Linked DNA regions of Homo sapiens: region 2 is linked to region 1. The links are contacts of gene promoters, found by promoter capture Hi-C in blood cells and fetal thymus (Javierre and others, 2016). All regions are on one chromosome and are shown on one strand. Each heading gives the region's core, a stretch centred on a gene start or on the middle of the fragment in contact. The rest is flanking DNA. Distances are from core to core; before and after follow the strand shown.

Region 1 (5,907 bases), core at 970-3,469:
TAAACTAGAAGCATATTACAATAGTACAAGCTAAAGATGCTACAGGATTAAACCAAAACAGTACTAGAAGTAAAGGAGAGGAACCTACCTGAAATTTATTGTGCTATTGCCATGAGCAAGTTACTTAAAACTTTTTGCTCATGCTTACAAGAGGAATTATACCAGTATCACAGGATTACGTTGAAGATTAAAACAAAGCAATATGTACAAAACCCTAACTCTATAAGAGGCACAGGTGTGTGTTTATTTTTAGAGACGGGGGTCTTGCTCTGTCACCCAGGCTGGAGTGCAGTGGCGTGATCACAGATCACAGCACCCTCTAACTCCTTGGCTCAAGTGATCCTCCCAACTCAGCTTCCCGAGTAGCTGGGATTAAAAGCATACATCATGGCCCCTGGCTTTAATTTTTAACTGCACTTATCCTTAACCATTTAATAATCTAGATATGTAATTTTCTTTTTTTCTTTTCTTGAGACCCAGTTTCGCTTTTTTCACCCAGACTGAAGTGCAATGGCGCGATCTTGGCTCACTACAACCTCCGCTTCACAGGTTCAAGCGATTCTCCTGCCTCAGCCTCCCCAGTAGCTGGGATTACCGGCACCTGCCACCACTCTCGACTGATTTTTTGTATTTTTAGTAGAGACAGGGTTTCAACATGTTGGCCAGGCGGTCTCGAACTCCTGACCTCAAGTGATCCGCCCGCCTCGAGCCTCCCAAAGAGCTGGGATTACAGGCGTGAGCCACCGCGCTCAGACTAGATACTTAATTTTCTACTAAATCTTATGAAATAGTACTTAAAATGTTCTCTTCATTTTAATATAGAGCTTTTTGCTGACCCTCAAAATACAGATTCTCAATATGGAGAGGTCAAAGGAAGGGACCTTAGAAATCTACTTGAGTTCCTTCATTTGGGGGATGAGGAAAAGATCTGATTAAATATTTAAGATAAAGCTCAAATTTTAAAAAAGAAACTCTGGTCAGCGCTGGCATTTTGAGGAAACAGAGGGGTTTTGTTTTATGTGTGTGAATCTACTGGTGTGTTTAAGTATTAGAATATTTCAAGAGCCATTCTACTGTTGTTATGGCTTTAGAAAGGGGTTGGGCAATCATTAAGAATTCGATTCAAGATTCTAGACCATCAAGAATCCACCTTGAGATCAAACAATACTCTTGATTCGTATCATGCTTTGTAAATGCTGAATCTTCAATAAAGGAACTGTAACAGAATAAACAGGGATGGTCAACGAATCACACACCTACAGCCAATTGGAGACACCACACATATTTTAGGTGCCATTTTGAATAAGGCTAGGGAGCAGCAAGGTCCATTCCCTAAGTAAAAGTGATCCCTGGCCAGTACCCTGGACTGTCAGCAAGCAAACAATACAAGCCCCTGTCAAACGCCAATCAAGAAATGACACCCCGGGGATATGTGTATTCATCTACTTCTGAAAGCTCACACCACGTTTCGGATACAGAAATCCAATGCAACGTTTGATGAAACGAAAACGAAGCAAAAAGGTTTACAATCTGCCTCGGGACAAAACTAAAACTGGTACCAAAGGGGCGGTCGAACAAAGGCAAGGGGCAAGAGAAGGGCGAAGGACGACGAAGGGCGGCGAACGCCGCTTGGCAACCCCAAGAAGGGTCGCTCCATCCCTCCCCTTCTTCCCCGCTCCCTTCCACGGCGACCACTGAGAAGCCCAAAGGAATCTCCCTGCACCTCCAGCCTGGCCCAGCGCCCCAGGACACACCCTCACTTTCACCGCACACCAGGGCAGCGTCAGAAACTATTCTGCAGAGTCACGACTTTGAGAGGCTTCCCCATCTCCACTCCCCCCACCCATCGGTGGCTCAGGGGGACGGCGCTCCCCTGCCACGCAGGGCTCCGACCCAGCCGGGAGAGGGGACGGTGCCTGGGTCATCTCCGCGCCGCCGGCCCCGCGCACCCCACCCCGGCCCCTCCCAGTCCATGCCGGGTGCCCGCCCGTGCAGGCCAGGCCTACGCGGAGGCCTAGCGCCGGTCCGGTGTGCTGCGCGCGAGGCCAGGACAGGGCTCACCGGAGTAGAGCGGCATGGCGGGGCGCGGCGGGAGGCGGCGGCGCAGGAGAGCTGGGCCTGACGAGGGCGGCAAAGGGACGGGGACCAGGAGCAGCTGCGGCGGCGGCCGAGGCGGAGGCGCGGTGGTGGCGGCGGCTTCGGTGCGACGAGTCTCATTCAAACCGGCCACTGGCGATGACGCAGCAACACGCAAAACACCCGTGCAGCTCCGGAGCGACTGCAGCGAGGAGACTGGGCGGCAGGACCGGGGCGGGGCCTAGAGGTGGCGAGAGGAGGGAGGAGGGGGAAGGCGGTGGAGGGGTGGCGGGAAGGAAGGAGGGAGCAAGTGAGGGACGGGCGCGGGGCCCCATCCACCGCAGCAGGTGCGCGCCTGCGCACTGCCGCCCATCGCCCTGCGCGCACTGGCCACGTGGTCCTGGCGCGGCCCAGCCCTGCGGCAGATGAAGTGGGAACTTGGTATCCCACCTGCTGTCTGAGGCTGAGGCGGGAGAATCGCTTGAGCCCAGGAGGTCGAGGCTGCAGTGAGCTGTGATCGTGCCACCGCACTCCAGCCTGGGCGACAGAGCGAGACCCTGCCTCAAAATAAAATAAATAAAATTAGTGGTTGTAAAGTCAGAGGTGTTTTGAAACCCAGCTGTTACTAGCTAGCTGTATGATGTCTGCAAACCTCAGTTTTCTTTTCACCCACACCTCATTTTATTGCGTTCTATATATATATATTTATATATTTTTATATATTTATATATTTTTATATATTTATATATATTTATATATTTATATATATTTATATATATATATATATAAATTGAAGGTTTGTGGCAACCCTGGGTTAGTAAGTCCATCAGTTCTGTTTTTCTAACAGCATGTGCTCACTTCGTGTCTCTGTGTCACATTTTGGTAATTCTCACAATATTTTGAACTTTTTAAATACTATTATATCTGTTCCAGTGATCTATGATTACTATTTTAGTTGTTTTGGGGTGCCACTAACCACCCCCGTGTAAAACAGCTAACTCCAATGTTTTGTGTATTCTGACTGCTCTGGCAACAAGTCTTTTCCCACAAGGGTTCAAGGCTTGAGTTCAGGACACAACTGCAGGTGTGGTGGCAATAGCAAGAGAACTAGAATTAGAAGTGGAGCCCACAGATGTGACTGAATTGCTGCAATCTCAAGACAAAGCTTTAATGGGCAAGGAGTCGCTTCTTATGGATAAGCAAAGAAAGTGGTTTCTTGAGATGGAAACTACTCCTGGTGAAGACGCTGTGAACACTGTTGAATGACAACAAAGGATTTAGAATATCATAAACTATGGAACTGTTGATAAAACAGCAGCAGAATTTGACAGGATTGACTCTAATTTTGAAAGAAATTCAAATTTGAAAGTTCTTCTGTGGGTAAAATGCTGAACAGCACTGCATGTCACAGGGAAAACTTTCATGAAAGGAAGAGTCAATCGACGTGGCAGATTTCATTATTGTCTTATTTTAAGAAATTGCCACAGCTACCCCAAACTTTAGCATCCACCGCTCTGATCAGTCAGCAGCCATCAACATTAAGGCAAGCCCTCTGCCAGCAAAAAGATGATGATTCACTGATAGCTCAGATGATCCTTAGCATTTTTTAGCAGTAAAGTTTTGTTTGTTTGTTTTGAGACAGGGTCTCACTCTGTCACCCAGGCTGGAGTGCAGTGACGCAATTACGGCTCACTGCAGCCTCAACCTCCCAGCTCAAGCTATCCTCTCACCTCAGCCTCCTGAGTAACTGGGACCACACACGGCTAATTTTTTTTGTATGTTTTGTAAAGACGGGATTTCGCCATGTTGCCCTGGCTGGTGTTGAACTCCTGGTCTCAAGCAATCTGCCCACCTAGGCCTCCCAAAGTGCTGGGATTACAGGCATAAGCCACTGCACCCAGCCTTGACACTAAATAGACTACAGTATAGTAGAAACATAACTTTTATATGCACTGGGAAAACAAAAACTTTGTGTGACTCATTTTATTACAATATCAGCAATATTGCAGTGGTCTGGAACTAAACTAGCAATGTGTTCAAGCTGTGCATGTAAAATGGAGATACATCTCAGGATTGTTATAAGGACTAAATAAGATTATGTATAGAAGATTCTTAGCACAGTGCATTGCACATGTGCTATGATACCTATTTTATATTACACAGTAAAACTTCAAAGGGATTTTGCAGGGTATGTTAGAATAGCAGGCTATGGATAGCTTTATTTTCTATTTTTTTTATGTTCAGTAACATATTTCTATAACATACATATTTAAAAATGTATTGCATAGATTGCCCGGGCACCATGGCTTACGTCTGTCATCCCAGCACTTTGGGAGGCCAAGGCAGGTGGATCACTTGAGCTCAGGAGTTCCAGACTAGCCTGGGCAATGAAGTGAGACCCCCATCTCTACAAAAAATTTAAAACTTAGCTAGGTGTGGTGGTGCACTCCTGCAGTCCCAGCTACTCGGGAGGCTGAGATGGGAGGGTAGCTTGAACCTGGGAGGCAGAGGTTCCAGTAGCCAAGATTGCACCACTACACTCCAGCCTGGGTGACAAAGCAAGACTCTGTCTCAAAAAAACAAAACAAAACCAAATAAAAATGTATAGATCATCTGTGGAAAAATCTGTGCTGCCCTTTGTTGAAGCTGATAGTAAAGGAGGCCTAAAGATTGAGAGATTCAGAGGCAAAAATCATCATCCTGTCTGCTACACTCACATTGCAACCTGCGCTTTTTTGTTGTTGTTGTTTCTTTTTCTTTTTGAGAGAGAGCCTTGCTCTGTCGCCCATGCTGGAGTGTAGTGATGCAATCTTGGCTCACTGCAACCTCCGCCTCCCAGGCTCAAGTGATCGTCATGCCTCAGTCTCCTGAGGAGCAGGGATTACAGGTGTGTACCACCACGCCTGACTAATTTTTGTGTTTTCAGTAGAGATGGGGTTTCTGCTGTGTTGACCAGGCTGGTCTCAAACTCCTGGCCTCAAGCTATCTGCCCACGGCCTCCCAAACTTCTGGGATTATAGGCGTGAGCCACCATGCCCGGCCAGCTTTTTCTTTAGTAACTCTCATCACACTTCTATTTTTTTAATGTCTGTATTCCCCCAAGTACACTATAAACAGGAATCGTGGCTATCTCGTAGGCACTCAGGAATTACTTGATGCTGTGAGAACTGGATGTGAAAGTTACCTATTTGAAGTTTATTCATCATGTAGATGACCAGGGAATCTTGTAGACCAAGTTTTGGTCCCTTTGGTACAACTAGCTTCTTCCAGCCTCTCTGAAGATCCGCAGACCTAAATTTAAGACAAATGGGGGCAGAGTGAGGAGGTGGAACCATGCTAGCAACTGAAAGGAAGCATAAAAAGAAATTTGCACAACTGGCCTTCCTAAACGTCAGAGTTAAAGATGACAGCGACCTCATCGCCATGACACACATTGCTAAGCCCTGCCCTCCATGTGTTTAATGGATGGGATTTTCTTCTTAAGGGTGACTTCTTTAATGAATAAATTGGTAAGATCTTAACCTGCATGTTTATACATAAATAAGTTCTATAAAACATAGCCAAATATCAGAAATGTTTTCACTTGGTGAATTACCTACAATTTATTGCTTAGAATGTACCCTCCTTCCTCATCTGGCCATGGGAAATCCTGTCCAACTTTAAAATCTCCATTTAATGCTAACTTTTTCACATAAACTGAAAGCCTTCTTATACAATCACCCCTTTGTGTCAAATACTATTATGTTTTATTATGGCTGATTTAGTTTCCTATGAGTGCTGTAATGAATTATCACAAACCTAGTGGCTTAAAACAACGTAAGTTTATTATTA
Region 2 (5,907 bases), core at 1,103-3,602, 550 kb before region 1:
TCCTTTTAACAGATATGTTTTGCAAATATTTTTCTTCCAATCTGCAGCTTGCATTTTCATTTCTTTAATGGTTTTCATAAAAGAGAAAACATTTTTAATGTTGATAATTTAATTGGCAATGTTTTTCTTTTATGATTCATGCTTTTAGTGTCCTAAGAAAGTTTGCTTTATCCAAGTACAAAAAGATTTTCTCCTGTGTTTTCTTTAGAAGTTTTGTAATTCTAGCTCTTAAAATTTAGATCTATATTCCACTTCGAGATGATTTTTGTGTATGATATAAGGTAATGATCCAGGATTGTTCTGTTTGTTCTTATGGATATTCAATTGTTCGAGCACCAGTTGTTGGAAAGATTAGCTTACTCGTTGAATTTTCTTGGCCCCTGTTTTTTTTTGTTGTTTTTATTTTGTAGACGGAGTCTCGCTTTGTCGCCCAGCCTGGAGGGCAGTGGCGCGATCTCAGCTCACCGCAACCTCCGCCTCCCGGGTTCAAATGATTCTCCTGCCTCAGCCTCCCGAGTAGCTGGGACTACAGGCGCGTGCTACCACGCCTGGCTAATTTTTTGTATTTTTACTATTTCAAGACCTCTTCTGTTCCATTGATCTACTTGTCTGTCTTTATGTCAATTTCACATTGACTCGATTAGTGTATAGCAAGTCTTAAAACCAAGTAGTTTAAGTTCTTCAGCCTTGTTCTTTTTTAGGATTATTTTGGCTATTCAAATTTCCATATAAATTTTAGAATCAACTTGTCAATTTCTTCAAAAAAATCCTGCTAGTGATTTAGATTAGATTGCATTGAATTTGTAGTTCGATTTGGGAAGAACTGCTATTTTAACAATATTGAGTCTTCCAATCCAAGAATATGAATTTCTCTACATTTCTACATTTCTTTAGATCTTTTTTTCTCAGCAATGTTTTATAGTTCAGTGTGCAAATCTTGCATATTTTTGTTAAACTTGTCCTGTTTTATATCTTCAATGCAATTGTTTTAAGAGATACTGTTTTCTAATTTGTTTCCAATTTTTTATTACTAGCACATCAACTATAGATTTTAAATTGACCTTGTATCCTACAAACTTGCTAAGCTCAATATTAGTTCCAGTAGCTTTTTTCGTTAAGTCCAATGAAGACAGTTTTCAACAAAGATGAATAATCATGTCATCCAAGAATAAACAGGTTTACTTCCTTTTCAATCTGCCTTTTATTTCTTTTCTTATTATATTACCCTAACTAGAACCTGCAGTACTATGTTGAATAGAAGTGGTGGAAGCAGACATCCTTTCCTTGTTCCAAATCTTAAGGAGAAAGCATCAATCATTCACCATAAAGTCAGTTTGTGGCTGTTTCTATCTTCTGAAATAGATTATAGAGAATTGTTGTAATTTCTTCCTTAAATGTTTGGTGTAAAATTCACCAGTGAAACCATGGACCTGGTGCTTTTTGTTTTTGGAAGGCTATTATTTATTCAAGTTATTTAATAGATATAGGCCTATTCAGATTGTCCATTTCTTCTCGTGTGAGTTTTGGCAGATTGTGTCTTTCAAGGAATTGGTTTATTTCATCCAGGTTATCAAATTTGTGGACATAGAATTCATAGTATTCCTTTATTATCATTTTAATGTCCGTCGGATCTGTAGTAATGTTCCTTATTTCACTTTTGATATTAGTTATTTGCGTTCTCTTTTCTTGCCTGGTTAGAGGCTTATTGATTTTATCAATGTTTTCAAAGAACCAGCTTTTGTTTTCATTGATTTTTCTTTGTTGCTTTCCTGTTTTCAATTTCACAGGTTTCTGCTTTAATTTTTATTATTTCTTCTCTTCTGCTTACTTTGGATTTTCTTTTTATTTCTTTTTATTTATTTATTTTTGAGACACAGTCTCACTCTGTCGCCCAGGCTGGAGTGCAGTGGTGCGATCTCGGCTCACTGCAACCTCCGCCTCCTGGGTTGAAGCGATTCTCCTGCCTCAGCCTCCCGAGTAGCTGGGACTGCAGGCGCCCGCCACCACGCCCGGCTAATTTTTTGTATTTTTAGTAGAGACGGGGTTTCACCGTGTTAGCCAGGATGGTCTCGATCTCCTGACTCGCCATCTGCCCGCCTTGGCCTCCCAAACTGCTGGGATTACAGGCGTGAGCCGCCCAGCATCTTTTTTTTTTTTTTTTTTTTTTTGAGTCGGAGTCTTGCTCTGTCGCCCGGGCTGCAGTGCAGTGGCGCGATCTCAGTTCACTGCAAGCTCCACCTCCCGGGTTCAGGCAGTTCTGCCTCAGCCTCCCGAGTAGCCGGGACTACGGGCGCGCACCACCACGCCCTGCTAATTTTTGTTTTTAGTAGAGGCGGGATTTCGCCGTATTGGCCAGGCTGATTTCAAACGCCTGACCTCAGGTGATCCGCCCGCCTCGGCCTCCCGAAGTGCTGGGATTACAGGCTGAGGCACGGTACGGGGACCTCATCTGCATCAGTACGGGTGTAATCAATGATGACCTGCCTCTTAATTTATCAGGTGGCAAACTGAGGCTGTGGGCACTGAAAGAGACCTAGCATTTTCTAGGGCACCGCTCTCCTGGGTACGCTGGCGACAACCAGCGGCCTCGGCTTGGGAGCTGAGCCACTGGCCGGAATCTGCCGCTGAGCGAATGCACTCGCTCAGACCCGACTTCTCCCTCTAGGGCGCGGCTCCCGGGCAGGTCCCTTCACGAGTCTTCCATCCGAGCAGAGCAGGGTCCCGCGGAGGCGCCGACCGGGCGCGAGGCCTCCTGCCTGCCCAGGTTCCCCGGCGACCCTGAGCGAACCCTCTCGGGGTCAGCTCCGTCTAGGCTGAGAAGGGAACGGCGGAAGGCGGAGTGCGCCCCCGGGAGCCCGGAGCTGGGACTGCAGCTCCCATGGGGCCAAGTTCACGGGGTGCGGCCGCGCGGCCAATGAGCGCCCTCTATGCCCTGACGGTGCCCCGCCTCGCGGCGCTGCCGCGCTCCCGCCCTCCCGCCCTCCCGCCGCGCGCTCGGGATCCCGACCAGTCCTGACCGCACGGGGGCCGCGGCCACGGGGCGCAGGGGCCATGGTGCGCGGCAGGATCTCCCGGCTCTCGGTCCGGGACGTGCGCTTCCCCACGTCGCTTGGGGGCCACGGCGCGGACGCCATGGTAAGCGCGGACGCCATGGTAAGCGCGGACGCCATGGTAAGCGCGGACGCCATGGTAAGCGCGGACGCCATGGTAAGCGCGGACGCCATGGTAAGCGCGGACGCCATGGTAAGCGCGGACGCCATGGTAAGCGCGGACGCCATGGTACGCGCGGCTTGCGGCCCGGGTCCCTCCCGCCCCGCCGACTGCAGCTCTGCGGGCCCCGGGCAGCTTCCCGACTTCGAACCCATTGCTTCTGTAAAGTGGGAGGCGCGCCTGGGGGAGACACTCGCTTTTCATGCCTTGGAGCAATTGTATAAGTATCCAGAAACTTTCCACTCTCCTGGGTTTTTTCTTTGCTGGAGTTTAGAATATCCTGGTTTTACTTTTACGACTCACATTTTGCTGGAAATGGTAGAATGCATAATAGGCAATAGCAGCAAAATGATTTTGTTGGGTTCCCGCCAGTGGAAACCCTAGAGCACAGCGCTCGCTGGCTTCCTCTGTACCCTGAACGCGACGGGGTTGGCGCTGAGGGAGAACGGGAAGCCCGGGGCTGGGAGTTTTGAGTGGTGATCCCGCTTCCACAACTTGCTGTGTGACTTGGAGAAGTTCCAGACCTCTCTGGGTCTCTTGGACCCGTCTGTGTAATGAAGGTGTCACAGTCGGGTTGAGAAACCAAGCGCGTGCTAACTGCGTCACATGAGAGGGCGCTCTCGTGAAATTACCCGCAAACACGCTTAGAAAGGACTGATGCAAATGTCAGTTCGTCTTAAGAGATGTAATAAAGTAAGGGCAGGAACTCTGACTCCTACCTAAATATTGAAGGTCTTTTTTGCTTACTGAGGGTGTTAGAATGTCAGGCCTTCCCTCCCCTGCCCCCGTCTAGAGCGGTGTTTCCCAAATACAGTGGGTTCTGTGCAGGGTTTTCAGGGAGCCTGTTCCCCACTGGGTCCTCACTGCCCCTCGTAGTCCACTGATGAGATTGGCCGCGCTAGAAAAGCAGAGTTGTATGGGTATGTAGTGAATGTGTGAAAGTATGCTGGGAAGTGAGGAACGGCAATGTTAGGAAAATGGTTACCAGTAGGGAGGGAAGGAAATGGGGTCACGGAGGGGACCACGAGGTCTCTAATTCCCATTGTAATGTTTTACTTCCTAAATTGGGTGGATGGCAAGCTGGTGTCCATTACATTATCTATACTCTTTTTGTACCTGAAATGTTTTATAAAAATAGATCTCTCGTTAAAGTTATTAAATGCAAAACAATGTCCTTTTTGAGATTAAGTTCATCCTGCATTTTTAAATTTTTATTTTATTCTATTTTATGTTTTAAATTTATTTATTTATTTATTTTGAGGCAGGGTCTCTTATCTGTTGCCCAAGCTGGAGTGCAGTGGTACTATCATGGCTCACAGCAGCCTTGACCTCCCTGACTCAACCAATCCTCCCACCTCAGCCTCCCAAGTAGCTGGGACTACAGGTGTGCACCATGATGCCCAGCTACTTTCTGTATTTTTTGTAGAGACAGGGCCCAGGCTGTCATCCTCTTTAAAATCTTCATGTTTCCTTTCTTACATGATGTTGGTAAATAACTTAAACACCCAGCAGGCAATCCTTTATGGAACTCAAAATAAATGTTGGAAATTTTACTGGCTTATAGAATCCAAACACTCGATCTCATGCAACTGCCTTTGCCTCTGTGAAGCTTTAGCAGCTGTGGCTAAGTCACACAATCTTTCTAAGCCTAGGTTTCTCATCTGTAAAATGGGTATAATAATATTCACTTTATACATGTAAATGAGATACCTGTAAAGAGCCTGGCTCAGAGAAGGCCGTCAGTAAAGTTGGCTATAGGCCAGGCATGAGGGCTCACACCTCTAATCCTAAGTGGAGGCCTAGGCAGGGGGATCACTTGAGCCCAGGAATTCAATTACATGAGCTATGATCATGCCACTGCATTCCAGCCTGGGCACTGGATGACACAGTGAGACCCTGTTTCTAAAGAAAAAAGGAGGGGTGGCTGTAATTACTATTCACTCTGAGGAAACTGAAGCAGAAGGAATCCCTAATCTAGACTTGACTTTGAATTTGTGAAATGTTAAGACAGCCTGGTTTGGCTGAGCGTGGTGGTTCAAGCCTATAATCCCAGCACTTTGGAAGGCCAAGGCAGGTGGATCGCTTGAGCCCAGGAGTTCGAGACCAGCCTGAGCAACATAGTGAGACCTCGTCTCAACAAAAAAATACAAAAATTAGCTGGGCGTAGTTGCATGCACCTGTGGTCCCAGCCACTCAGGAGGCTGAGGTGGGAGGATCTCTTGAGTCCAGGAGGTCGAGGCTGCAGTGAGCTGTAATTGTGTCACTGCACTCCAGCCTGGGTGAGAGAGAGAGACCCTGTCTCAAAAGACAGCCTGGTTTACTGTAGAATAATTCAAGAAATGGAATTTGCCTCTGGGCCTGAGTGATGTCTAACACAGGGTAAGGAGACATTATCTAACACCTGTATTGCAAGCTCATAAATACTTAAGCATTTTATCTTGGGGAGATAGGGTGTATGTTGTGTGCCAGCTCTCAAGTGCCTTCTTATTAGAATGAGCTGTTTTGCAGTTCACCATGGAGATGGCTTCACATGCCCTCGAGGCATGCTGGACCATCAGCACTTAGCAAAGTGAGCCTCCCTGATCAGAAGTAGGATATTTTCAAGAAAGAGCAATAAAGCTGTCCTCAAAATCTGCTAAAGACTCCTGCTTTTTTTTTTTAGACAGAGTCTCGCTTGTTGCCCAGCCTGGAGTGCAG

What was found. Contacts are between HindIII fragments. The CHiCAGO score rates a contact against its expected background, and 5 or more counts as called.
Region 2: a contact is called between a fragment that was not itself captured here and the fragment with the promoter of USP14 in region 1, in 1 of 17 cell types (monocytes). The highest score is 5.6, in monocytes.

The regions. Positions count from the first base shown.
Region 1 is chr18:154,869-160,775 of GRCh38, reverse strand. It overlaps USP14 (ubiquitin specific peptidase 14), which reads right to left and starts at 2,219. Exons shown (of 16, transcript NM_005151.4): 1 at 2,062-2,219. The coding sequence starts at 2,077. LOC105371951 (a long non-coding RNA gene) reads right to left here. Exons shown (of 4, transcript XR_935081.2): 3 at 5,261-5,367; 4 at 2,607-2,633. RefSeq lists silencers at 1,828-2,007, 2,278-2,547. The HindIII fragment of the contact is 8,571 bases long and covers 1-3,243 here.
Region 2 is chr18:709,732-715,638 of GRCh38, reverse strand. It overlaps ENOSF1 (enolase superfamily member 1), which reads left to right and starts at 3,009. Exons shown (of 16, transcript NM_017512.7): 1 at 3,009-3,135. The coding sequence starts at 3,052. RefSeq lists silencers at 1-10, 2,765-3,084 and an enhancer at 2,234-2,813. The HindIII fragment of the contact is 4,938 bases long and covers 1-4,821 here.